Linked DNA regions of Homo sapiens: region 2 is linked to region 1. Evidence: promoter capture Hi-C in human tissues and cell types (Jung and others, 2019). All regions are on one chromosome and are shown on one strand. The core of a region is centred on a gene start or on the middle of the fragment in contact, and the rest is flanking DNA. Distances in the headings are between cores, read along the strand shown. Region 1 holds the start of CRKL (CRK like proto-oncogene, adaptor protein). Region 2 overlaps LRRC74B (leucine rich repeat containing 74B).

Region 1 (5,677 bases), core at 1-2,500:
TTGAGATGGGGAAATCAAGGCTGCAGTGAGCCATGATAGTTCCACTGCACTCCAGCCTGGGTGACAGAAGGAGAACCTGTCTCAAAAACAAACAAAATAAAACAAACAGGCTGGGCACGGTGGCTCACGCCTGTAATCCTAGCACTTTGGGAAGCTGAGGCAGGCAGATCACCTGAGGTCAGGAGTTTGAGACCAGCCTGGCCAACATGGTGAAACCCCGTTTCTACTAAAAATACAAAAATTAGCAGGGCATGGCGGCGGACAGCTGTAATCCCAGCTACTCGGGAGGCTGAGGCAGGAGAATCGCTTGAACCCGGGAGGCGGAGGTTGCAGTGAGCCGAGATCGCGCCCCTGCACTCCAACCTGGTGACAGAGCGAGACTCCGTCGAAAGAAGGAAAGGAAAGGGAAAGGGAAAGGAAAGGGAAAGGGAAAGGAAAGGAAGAGAGAGAGAGAGAGAAAGAAAAGAAAAGAAAAAAGAAAAGAAAGAAAGAAAGAAAGAAAGAAAGAAAGAAAGAAAGAAAGAAAGAAAACAAACAAAAACAAATAGGGATTAATAAATAGGCAGAAGCAGGCATAATCCGGGGCAGGGGAAGCCTCGGGGCCACGCCCGAGAGGCATTTGTATTTTACTTTCAGCAGTTCAGAGCCCATGATAGCCAGGTTACCCACTTGTGGACTTCCTTGACCACTTAATTGAGTCAATCTAACCCTCACCTTCTCTCTCCTCTCACTCCATTTAGCGGGTCACGTAGCCACTAGGGCTTCCTTAGCCTATCAGGCCACCTGGGGACTGAGTCATTCAGTCAGTCACCTATCTGGTGGTCACATCTGCCCCTGGGCTCATCCTTTTACTGGGCCACCTCGGCCCATCGGGACCTGTCAGTCCTTGACCTCCCTCAGGCCCCTAGGCTGGCCAGGTCGCCTCAGTGCCACGCCTCCCTGGCCCGCGATTCAGCCTGCACGTTACGCTTTGTTCCCAGAAGCAGGTTTTCGAAACGCGGTTCCCTCTCGGCTCCAGCTGTTTTCCTGCCAGCGCTGGGAGACCCGGCAGCCGCAGCGCCCCCAGCGGCGCGCAGCGGCCCAGGAAGAGAGTGCCTACCGCCGGCGCCTCTTCAGCCTCCTCCTGGAACGCGGGAGCGGGCGCGACCAGCGCCCACCCTGATCGTCGCGACGGTGCTCCTGATTGGCTGCGCTGTGTGACGTAACGGGAGGGCCCCGGCGGCCGCCGGGAGCCGGGGCCCAGCGCGTGCGCAGACGGAGCGCGCTGAGCGGAGGGGGAGGTGGCTGCCGCTTCTCCCGCGTCCGCCATTTTGTTGCTGTGGCTATTGGGAACAAGCTGGGCAAAAGCACCCCGGAGGCGCGACGCTCCTTCGAGTTCGGTGCCTCGTGTGACGGCGGGGGTCGGTGAAGACCCGTCGAGCTGCGGCGCCGGCGCGTTCCAGGCCGGGAGTCACTGGAGGCACCCCTGGGACGCCGAGCAGCCCGAGAACCCCGGGGTGGCCTCCGCTGCGGCTCGGGTTTGCCTGCCCCGACCCCCCGGCTCTGCCGTGCATTCCCGGGCGGCTCTCTCCGTGTGGCGGCCCCGGAGCAGGCGGGCGGCGTCGGAGGATGCTGCGGGCCCGGAGCCGAGAGGAAAGTGCTGGCCCAGCCCTCTGAGCGCTCCTCGAGGTGTGCGAGAGGCCCTTCCTCGGCCCCAAAGCCGTCTGCCGGGCTAAGGCGTGCAGAGCAGGCGAGGACAGCCGCCGCCCCTACCGCCGCAGAGTCCCCGGTCCAACACCATGTCCTCCGCCAGGTTCGACTCCTCGGACCGCTCCGCCTGGTATATGGGGCCGGTGTCTCGCCAGGAGGCGCAGACCCGGCTCCAGGGCCAGCGCCACGGTATGTTCCTCGTCCGCGATTCTTCCACCTGCCCTGGGGACTATGTGCTGTCGGTGTCCGAGAACTCGCGGGTCTCCCACTACATCATCAACTCGCTGCCCAACCGCCGTTTTAAGATCGGGGACCAGGAATTTGACCATTTGCCGGCCCTGCTGGAGTTTTACAAGATCCACTACCTGGACACCACCACCCTCATCGAGCCTGCGCCCAGGTACGCGAGAGCCCTCCCCGACCGCGGAGGAAGGTCGAGAACCGGGTCTGTCGAAGAGTGCTTGTATAGGGGGGTGGGGCGCGCTTGAACCCATATTCCCCGCATTCTGAACCAAATTATTTTCCAGAAGGCCTTCCTAACAGAAAGCTAGTGTCAGGATCTGGGTCACTGGATAAGAGGATGCGTTTTTTTTTTTTCCCTCTCACGAGGCTGTTTCTCAATGTGAAGAGGATGCGTTTTGAATGTTTAACGGTGGTTGCATAGTTAAAATGCACGCTTTTTGCCTTTCGTGACTTTCTCTGGGTGTAATACTGATGCAGGGATTTGTTGGTTTTTCTAAAAACCTCTTTTTTTTTTTTTTTTTTGAGACGGAGTCTCGCTGTGTCGCCAGGCTGGAGTGCAGTGGTGCGATCTCGGCTCACTGCAACCTCCGCCTCCCGGGTTCAAGCGATTCTCCTGCCTTAGCCTCCCGAGTAGCTGGGACTACTGGCTCACGCCACCACACCCAGCTAATTTTTGTATTTTTAGTAGAGACGGTGTTTCACCATGTTGGCCTGGATGGTCTCGATCTCTTGCCCTCGTGATCCGCCTGCCTCGGTCTCCCAAAATGCTGGGATTACAGGCGTGAGCCACCACACCCGGCCAAAAACCGTTTTTAAGCCATAGACTTCTTTGAGAATCTGAAGATAGCCGAGCACTCACCACCCCACCCCCACCCCCACCCCCACCCCTCCCCGCCAAAGGCACGTACACACAAGTTTGCACACCATCCCGGGTGCTTGTACTCCCTCCAGATCTCTGAACTCCAGGTTAAGAACTCCAGGACTGCAGCCTTTGGAACAGTCAAAAAAATGAAAATGCTTTAGCGTTTAGAAACAAAAAAACCTTTAACCAAAATATCAGAACTGTATATTGATACTGTGGTGCCAAGTTTGAAGCAGGCCAGACACCACCACTTTTATAGTACGTTAATTACAAAGATAAGAGAAGGTGCATTGGCTTCAGCGAGGATATTTTTTGGAAAATTTATTGCATATTTTCTCCCCGAGGACCATTAGTAGGCCAGAGATCAGTCTGGTTAATTTCCAAGGTGGAATTAGGCTAGAATGTTATTAAGGAAAATTTTTGAATGACACTTAGTTGTATCCTAGTTCAATTTCAGACATGCTTTTTGTGTTAAGTCTAATGATTTTGTATTTCTTATTTTAAAATTAACGCAAAGTGACCAAGCATTCTCTTTTCCAAGTGAAATACGTTATTTTAATTGATTAGTTGCTTTAATTTGCCTTAAGCGTTTTAGCAGAGATTTGCTTTTATTGTTGTGTTTGCCCTGTAACACTGATTTTATCAGAGGTTTCTTTTATTTAAATTATCCCAAATTTGAGTTGAAAAGTTGCCTAGAATTTTTAAAGTAACAAACTGGCCAGTTCGTTTCTTAAACATCTATTTTAAAAGGACTGGGTGTTGATACAGTTTTTCCAGGGTTAGATGTTTATGACTTTATGGATTTGTCGACCGGGTATTACTCTAAACTTTAAACATTAAAAGCTATTATAATTGAGGACACCAACTGTTTGCATAGTGGGATAGAGATAGAAAAAAAAAAGCCATGACAGTATAATGACTACAAGATTAACTACTGAACTAAATGGACTTTAAAAGTGGGGAGAAAGTGATTATAAATCAAATACTGTATAACAAAGACCAGGACACCAAGAATCTGATTGGTGAAACCTGCGGTTCCTGGCAGATGCTGGTAGTTGCAGTCAACTTTGAGCACAATATAATTCCAATTTAAGGAGTTGAGAATCTTAGAACCCACTGTAGTGAGATTTGTAATATGACTGAATAAATTCTTCCTCTCGTTTGTGAGCGTGAATTATATAATTAATACCAGGCATTCATTAAGCCATGCATATGCTTATGTTGAGGTCATGAGTACTAATAATACAGCTGTTTCAAAAAGCAAGTTAATGGGCGGGTGTGGTAGCTCACGCCAGTAATCCCAGCACTTTGGGAAGCCAAGCCGGGCGAATCACGAGGTCAGGAGTTCAAGACCATCTTGGCCAACATGGTGAAACCCCGTCTCTGCTAAAAATACAAAAAATTAGCTGGGCGTAGTGGTGGGTGCCTGTAATCCCAGCTACTCGGGAGGCTGAGGCAGGAGAATCGCTCGAACCCGGGAGGCGGAGGTTGCAGTGAGCCGAGATCGCGCCACTGCACAGCCCGGGTGACAGAGTGAGACTCTGTCTCAAAAAAAAAAAAGGAAAAAGTTAATGACTTGAGTCTCCTTCTAGAGGAAGGAAAAGAAGTATGCCGCTTCTCTCTATCCACAGAATCGCCTCCAGATTTTCCGTACATGCATGCATCTTCTTAGAGAACAAGCATGTAATTCTGTCTTTGCCCTCTTTCGTCCTTCCTTTACTGCAGCTGTACTAGGCTGCTCACTTATTCCCTGGTAGCCATCCTTCCTTACTCATACCTTTGTACCTTTGCACCTTTGCTCCAGCTGTTGGCTCTTCACTGACTGCCTTAACTACACCTCACTCTCCATCTGTTGAAATCCTACCTGTTGTTCCAGTCCCCTCACAGATTATAGGGCCTTTCTCTGACCCTACCCCTCACGTTCAGCTTTGTTTCTCCTTCTCTGTGCCCTCTGCCTCAGGCCTGTTGCTTTAATTTAGTTTTTCATTTTCCTAGGTATCTCTGAAGGAGATCACCATGCTGGTTGAATTAGATCCTGACTGAGTTTACTTTGTTATACTGAATCTTCGAATTGCCACTCCCAAGCCTGGTTTTCATGGCTTAGGTTTAACATGTTATTAGCCTTTTATAGAAAGCTAGTGACTACTAGAGCCTGGGCCAAACGGAAAACTCAGTGTAATGCTTCTTCGCATCCCAAACAGGGTACATTTAGTGGCTTAACTTTGCAGGCATCAAAACTGAGCTTTTAAAGCCAGAGTTTCATGCCTCTTGGCTAATATTTTGGTTTATCTTGCATAGCTAAAATTTGTAACAATAATGTCCTACTCGAAATTTAAGGACTGGTGGCTTGCATTGTTATAGTCTTATCCTTTTCATTAGAATGCTTCATAATTTTTAATTTTATATTTTTATTCAAATGTTTATAAGAGAATTATAACCCAGTGTAACCCAGTGTAGGTACTGGGAAAGATGTGTGACAGACATACTTTCTTCCTGTGGAACTCCTACTGTAGTGGAGAAGACAGACTGAAAAGTAGAAAAATAAAGTACTAGTAAGATCAATATACAGGAGGGACCTACCTGGGGTGGCGTGGTCAGAGAAAGCATGAAGCTAAGACCTGAGGGTAAAGAAGAACCCAGCCTAGGCAAGGCTTGGCCTGAGAGGAGGAGAAGAGCCTTCCAAGTTTAGGGAAAAGCTTATGTAGATGTCCTGAGGTGAGAAAGTCCATTGTGTTGGGAGTGTGTTTCTTTTCTTTCTTTCTTTTTTCTTTTTTTTTTTCTTGAGACGGAGTCTTGCTCTGTCGCCCAGGCTGGAGTGTGCGATCTCGGCTCACTGCAAGCTCCGCCTCCTGGGTTCACACCATTCTCCTGCCTCAGCCTCCC
Region 2 (5,685 bases), core at 1,466-3,965, 140 kb after region 1:
TCAGAGGAGCGGCAGCTGGTGTCCACCAGGACAGGGACGCTTTAGGTGTGTTTGCCGTGTGATTCCTCTGAACGGTGTCATCTCCACCTTTTACCTGTTGATCTGTCCAGGGTTCCTGGGGTGTGAGTGGAGGGAACAAGAGACCCAACCTGGTGGCTGCAATGGCAGCTCCAGTGGGCACCCTGGGGCAGTGGGCTCTGCACCGCTGCTTGGAAGGTTGCACAATGCATGTGCCTGTTGTTTTTGTTGCAGTAACAACCGCATCTCTGCGATGGGAGCCCTGAGCCTGGGCCTGGGCCTCCGGGTCAACCAGACGCTGAGGATTCTTGTAGTGAGTGCTAGCCTGATGACTGAGACACCAGCACAGACCTGCCCTGTAACAGTCCACACAGATCCCTCCCCCACAGCCCCCACCCAGGGGCAGCAGGCAGGTGCACACAGGCTGGCTCACTCCCTTGCCACTCACCCTGAATCTGGGGCCTGGCCCTCCTCTTCTCCCCTTCATCCCTCCCAGCCTCTCTCCCACATCTTCTTGCTGCCCTTCCTCCTCTGTGGGCTGGGGTGCTGCTCTGCTGAAGGTGGCTGGGCACCCCTTGTGTCTCCCTCATCTTCTCCCCTGCCTTTCCTCTGGCCTTGCTGAGACCCAGGCCCCACCCAGGTGTTCTGTTGGCCACTGCTCAGGCCCACCTGAGGCCTGGTGTTCCCAGCTGGGGTTCCTTCCCCTGGGTTTGCAGGTGGGGAGGGAGTGCTGAGCAGGACAGGGAGCAGAAGACAGACACAGGAGGGAGGCAAGCCGGGAGCAGGTCCCCAGGGGACCACTGTGCCCACAGCAGGTACGTGCTGGGGGACAGTATTGCCAGCTGGGTATGGACATCCAGCTCTGTCGGCCCTCAGCTCCCCACCCTAGCCTTACTGGGCTTCTCCCATAGCTCTCCTCCCCTGCTTCCTGCCTCACAGGAACCTGGACCTCTCTGAAGCATAGACCTGCGTTTCGAGTCACCTCGTAGACAGTCCTCTAAATGTCCCAAAGACACGTGGGAATGTGAGAGTCCAACCTGAACGCATACCCCCCTCTAAGGGCCACCTCCTGGTGGGGGGCTCCTTCTTCCTTCTTCCCAAGTCACCAGCTGGGGCCCAGAGCCTGCCTGCCCCTCCCTTTTCCACACCCTCCCTCCCACCTTCTGCAGGGGCTCACCCTGCTGACTCCTCCCTCTTCTGACTTCCTCTCTTAGCTTCTGTGAACTTGCGGGATTCCTGGCTGCGGTTCTTTCTTCCCAGCTGCTACCCAGGACCAGAAACATGCCCTGCTTTAAAACTGTTGGAGTTTTATCCCCTCTGGATAAACCCAAGCTTTGAGTGCATCATGTCATGCGGAGCTAGGTGTGGTGGCTCACGCCAATAATCCCAGCACTTCGGGAGGCTGAGGCAGGCAGATCGCTTGAGGTCAGGAGTTTGAGCCCAGACTGACCAACATGGTGAAACCCTGTCTCTACTGAAAACAAAAAGATGAGCCAGATGTGGTGATGCACACCTATAATCCCAGCTACTCTGGAGGCTGAGGCAGGAGGATCCTTTGAACCCAGGAGGTGAAGGTTGCAGTGAGCTGAGATCTCACCACTGCACTCCAGTCTGGATGACAGAGCAAGACTCTGTCTCAAAAAAAAAAAAAAAGTAACATAGCATGTCATGGGGGATCTGGGCTCTGCCAGCCCCTCTCTTCCAAGTTCAGTGCTCTCACCCCAAGCTTGGAGCACACACACACACACACACACACACACACACACACACACACACACGGTACTATTTTTCACCCCTGCCTTTGTTCCTCTGCTGTTCTTGCTGAAGTGTCCAGCTCCGGCCACCTCACCTGGGAAGCTCCGCTGAGCCCTGCCCAGATACACCTCCCCTCCCAGCCTTTCCCTCCCAGGGGAGCTGGTGCACACTCACTCACTGCGCTGATCACACCACATTTCATGATGCTTCCTTTCCCTCCCCTCTCCCCAGCAGGCAAGTTCTTAAAGGCAAGGGTGTGTCTTGTGTGTCTATATCAATCGGAGGCCTCTCCCTTCCTTTCTTCCCTGACCCAGCAGCCTCACCAGAGCATTCTGTCTGACTATCTGATGGAGACACCTTCTGAGCCGAAACAGTGTGGCCATAGTGGCTGTGTCCTCAGAGATGAGGAGCCCCTCCTTCCCTTTCACATTGCTCTCTGGCCTTCCCGGACCTGGCTTCTCGCAGCTTTGTGTGCGTGTTTCTCAGGTGTCCAGGAATCCCATGCGAAGTGAAGGCTGCTTTGGTCTCCTCAAGTCTGTCCAGGACAATCCAGCCTCTGCCCTGGAACTGCTGGATTTCTCAGTAAGAGCATTTTATAAACCTCGTTTCTGATCCTCCCAGCAGCCCTGTGAGGTATCATAATTTTAGAAGAAGAAAGTGAGGGTTACAGAAATCAAGAGCCCTGCCCAGTTACACAGCGTGGCAGAAGCAGAGTTGCAACGGGACTTGAATGCAGGCATGGGGCCACTCAGCTCTGCCCGCTCCAGACTGCTGGTTCCACGGGATCTCACCTGGGGCACCTGCCTGGGTTCTTCATTGGCTGAGAGAGGATAAGTGGAGGTCTGGGCATGATGCTCCCTATCCACTGAGGTTTCGATCTGCAGGCGCAGCACCTGCAAGGCTGCCCTCTGCCCCTCCCCTGACTGTCTGCAGGTGGACTGTGGTGCTGGAAGCTTCACTTGAGTGGCTGTGAGAGAGATTAGGATCCCTTTTCATTCAATTTTGCCACTTTTTTTTTGAGTCAGGGTCTCACTCTGTCACCCAGTTGCAGTGCAGTGGTGTGATCGTAGCTCACTGCAGTCTCAAATTCCTTGGCTCAAGTGGTTCTCCTGTCTAAGCTCCCCAAGCAGCTGGAAGTACAGGTACAGGTCACCATACCTGGCTAAAGTTTTTAGAGATGGGGGCTTGCTATGTTGCCCAGGCTGGTTGCAAACTTCTGACCTCAAGTGATCCTGTGCCATGGTCTCTCATGTCTTGGGTCAATTTTGATTTTTTTTTTTTTTTTGAGACAGAGTCTCACTCTGTCGCCCAGGCTGGAGTGCAGTGGTGCTATATTGGCTCTCTGCAACTTCCGGCTCCCAGATTCAGGCAATTCTTCTACCTCAGCCTCCTGAGTAGCCAGGATTACAGATGTGTGCCACCACGCCCGGCTGATTTTTTTTTTTTTTTTGGTATTTTTTTTAGTAGAGATGGGGTTTCACCAGGTTGGCCAGGCTGGTCTCGAACTCCTGACCTCAGGTGATCCACCCACCTCGGCCTTCCAAGTGCTGGGATTACAGGCATGATCCATTGCGCCTGGCGAATTTTGATTTTTTTAATGTAGAAAAAGTGCCAGGTGAGATGGCTCACACCTATAATCTTAGCATGTTGGGAGGCTGAGGTGGGAGGATCCCTTGAAGCCTAGAGTTCAAGACCATCCTGGGCAACACAGAAAGGTCCCCATCTCTACAAAAAGCTTTTTAAAAAATTAGCCAGGCATGTGGCACATACCCGTAGTTTCGGGTACTCAGAAGACTGAAGCAGGAGGATCACCTGATCCCAGGAGTTTGTGGCTTCAGTGAGCTATGATTGTGCCACTGCACTCCAACCTGGGGAACAGGGCCAGATTCTGTCTCAAAAAAAAAGGGAAGGAAACAAAAAAAATTGAGTTACAAATCAGTGCTGATTCTAACCCTGATTTTTTTCAACCCAGACTTGAGTCAAAGCCTTTCCAGAAATGTGTCTGTGTAGTTTCAATTCTTCAGGTTTGGGACAACCGATGTCAAACGTCCTTACCATTTCCTTCTAATGGCCTGTTCTTGCCTTAACCATGTGCCTGCTGCTCTGAGAATTCCTGTCAGCACTGGATCTGTCATTCTAAAAGAAATAGAATGTCATATGGCATTATCCTGCCTGAATATACACTTACTTGTCACAATGTATGGTCATTATCAGAAGCCCCTAGTCTTGTGGGAATGCCATGGGCTTTGGAATCAGTTCAGGGTTGGGACCAAATCCTGTGTCTATCAATGTGAGATCCTGGACAAGATTCTGAGTCAAAGAATCATAAACGATCAATCAATAACAAGCCTGGGATGGGCATGATGGTTCACGCCTATAACCCCAGGACCTCGGGAGGCCAAGGCAGGTGGATCACCTGAGGTCAGGAGTTCGAGACCACCCTGGCCAACATGGCAAAACCTGTCTTTACTAATAATACAAAAATTTGGCCGGAGTTGGTAGCTCATGCCTGTAATCCCAGAACTTTGGGAGGCCGAGGCAGGCAGATCACCTGAGGTCAGGAGTTCGAGATCAGTCTGGCCAACATGGTGAAACCCTGTCTCTACTAAAAATACAAAAATTAGCCGGGCATAGTGGTATGCACTTGTAATCCCAGCTACTCAGGAGGCTGAGGCAGGAGAATCACCTCCAGGAGAACCCAGAGGCAGAGGTTGCAGTGAGCCGAGATCGTGCCATTGCACTCCAGCCTGAGCAACAAGAGTGAAACTCTGTGTTGTAAAAGATAGAAGAAAAATTAGCTGGATGTGGTGGTGCTCACCTGTAACCTCAGCTACTCGGGAGGCTGAGGCAGGAGAATCGCTTGAACCAGAAAGCGGAGGTTTCAGTGAGCCGAGACCATGCCAATGCATTCCAGCCTGGGTGACAGAGCGAGACTCTACCTCAAAAAAACCCAAAAAACAAAAAAACAAAGAAAAACAATTAGCCTGAATTGAATATTCTATCTTCTATTCCTTAACTGTTGTTATCTGTTATCACTAGTATAATCTGACTAGCCCAGATTTTATTCTGAGCTTTGAGGGAAATAGTTTTGAAGACTTATAGTTCAAGGAAAATCTTTCCCTAGGCTCAGACTTGTGTTTTTGTGAAATGGGGCTAACGTCTACCCCGCAAGGCCATCATGAACATAAGCTGAGATGACAGACCTAAGGGAAAGGCCTTGCACAGAGAAGGACTCCATCAGTGCCAGTTCTGTTCTTCACAACCCCTTGGTTTTTTGTTTTTAATTGAGGAACAACATCTATGCTGAAAAATGCACAAAGATTAAGCATAGAGCTTGGAGAATTTTCACAAACAGCATAGGTGTCTATGTAACCAGCCCCCAGATCTGGAAATACAGCATAGCCGGGCATGGTGGTGGGCACCTGTAGTCCCTGCTATTCTGGAGGCTTAAGCAAGAGGATAGATAGCTTGAGTCCAGGAGCTCAGGGATGAAGTGAGCTATGATTGAGCCACTGCACTCCAGCCTGGTGACACAGTACGATCCCATTTCTAAATAAATAAATACAGCAGGCCTCTAAACATCCCCCATTGTCCCCTTCTCTCCTGGATCTTACTAGTTTGCGGGTATGAGACTGTCATCCACAGGGGAGAAGCTGCCCGAAGGAGCTTCTCTGAGACCTTGCGTGTGTGAGTGAAAAATGGTGAAGTTCTCAGATAGTAACAAAGTTCATCCTTGTAATGGGTGTCTCCTTAGGATATCCAGGTGAACGCAGAGTTTGATGGCCTTGCTAGCTCAGTGAGGGGAATTCTTCCAGAACTCTGCATAAAGACTGGCGCTTGCAGAGTGGAGTATAAAAAGGAGTTGCTGCCAGTCTTCAGATCAGCCCTGCCAGCGTCTGTCCCTAAGTGACC

What was found. Contacts are between HindIII fragments. The study calls those that stand out against the background at their distance.
Region 2: a contact is called between a fragment that was not itself captured here and the fragment with the promoter of CRKL in region 1, in 1 of the 25 tissues and cell types used here (mesendoderm cells).

What each region holds. Positions count from the first base shown.
Region 1 is chr22:20,916,157-20,921,833 of GRCh38, forward strand. CRKL (CRK like proto-oncogene, adaptor protein) reads left to right here and starts at 1,251. Exons shown (of 3, transcript NM_005207.4): 1 at 1,251-2,089. The coding sequence starts at 1,779. RefSeq lists a silencer at 1,168-1,617 and an enhancer at 1,908-1,967. The HindIII fragment of the contact is 23,660 bases long and covers 1-5,677 here.
Region 2 is chr22:21,054,846-21,060,530 of GRCh38, forward strand. It overlaps LRRC74B (leucine rich repeat containing 74B), which reads left to right. Exons shown (of 10, transcript NM_001291006.2): 7 at 253-331; 8 at 2,260-2,355; 9 at 5,528-5,685. The coding sequence ends at 5,683. Among named protein-coding and RNA genes, the nearest start is that of LRRC74B, 12 kb to the left of the region's middle. RefSeq lists an enhancer at 748-1,280. The HindIII fragment of the contact is 4,911 bases long and covers 261-5,171 here.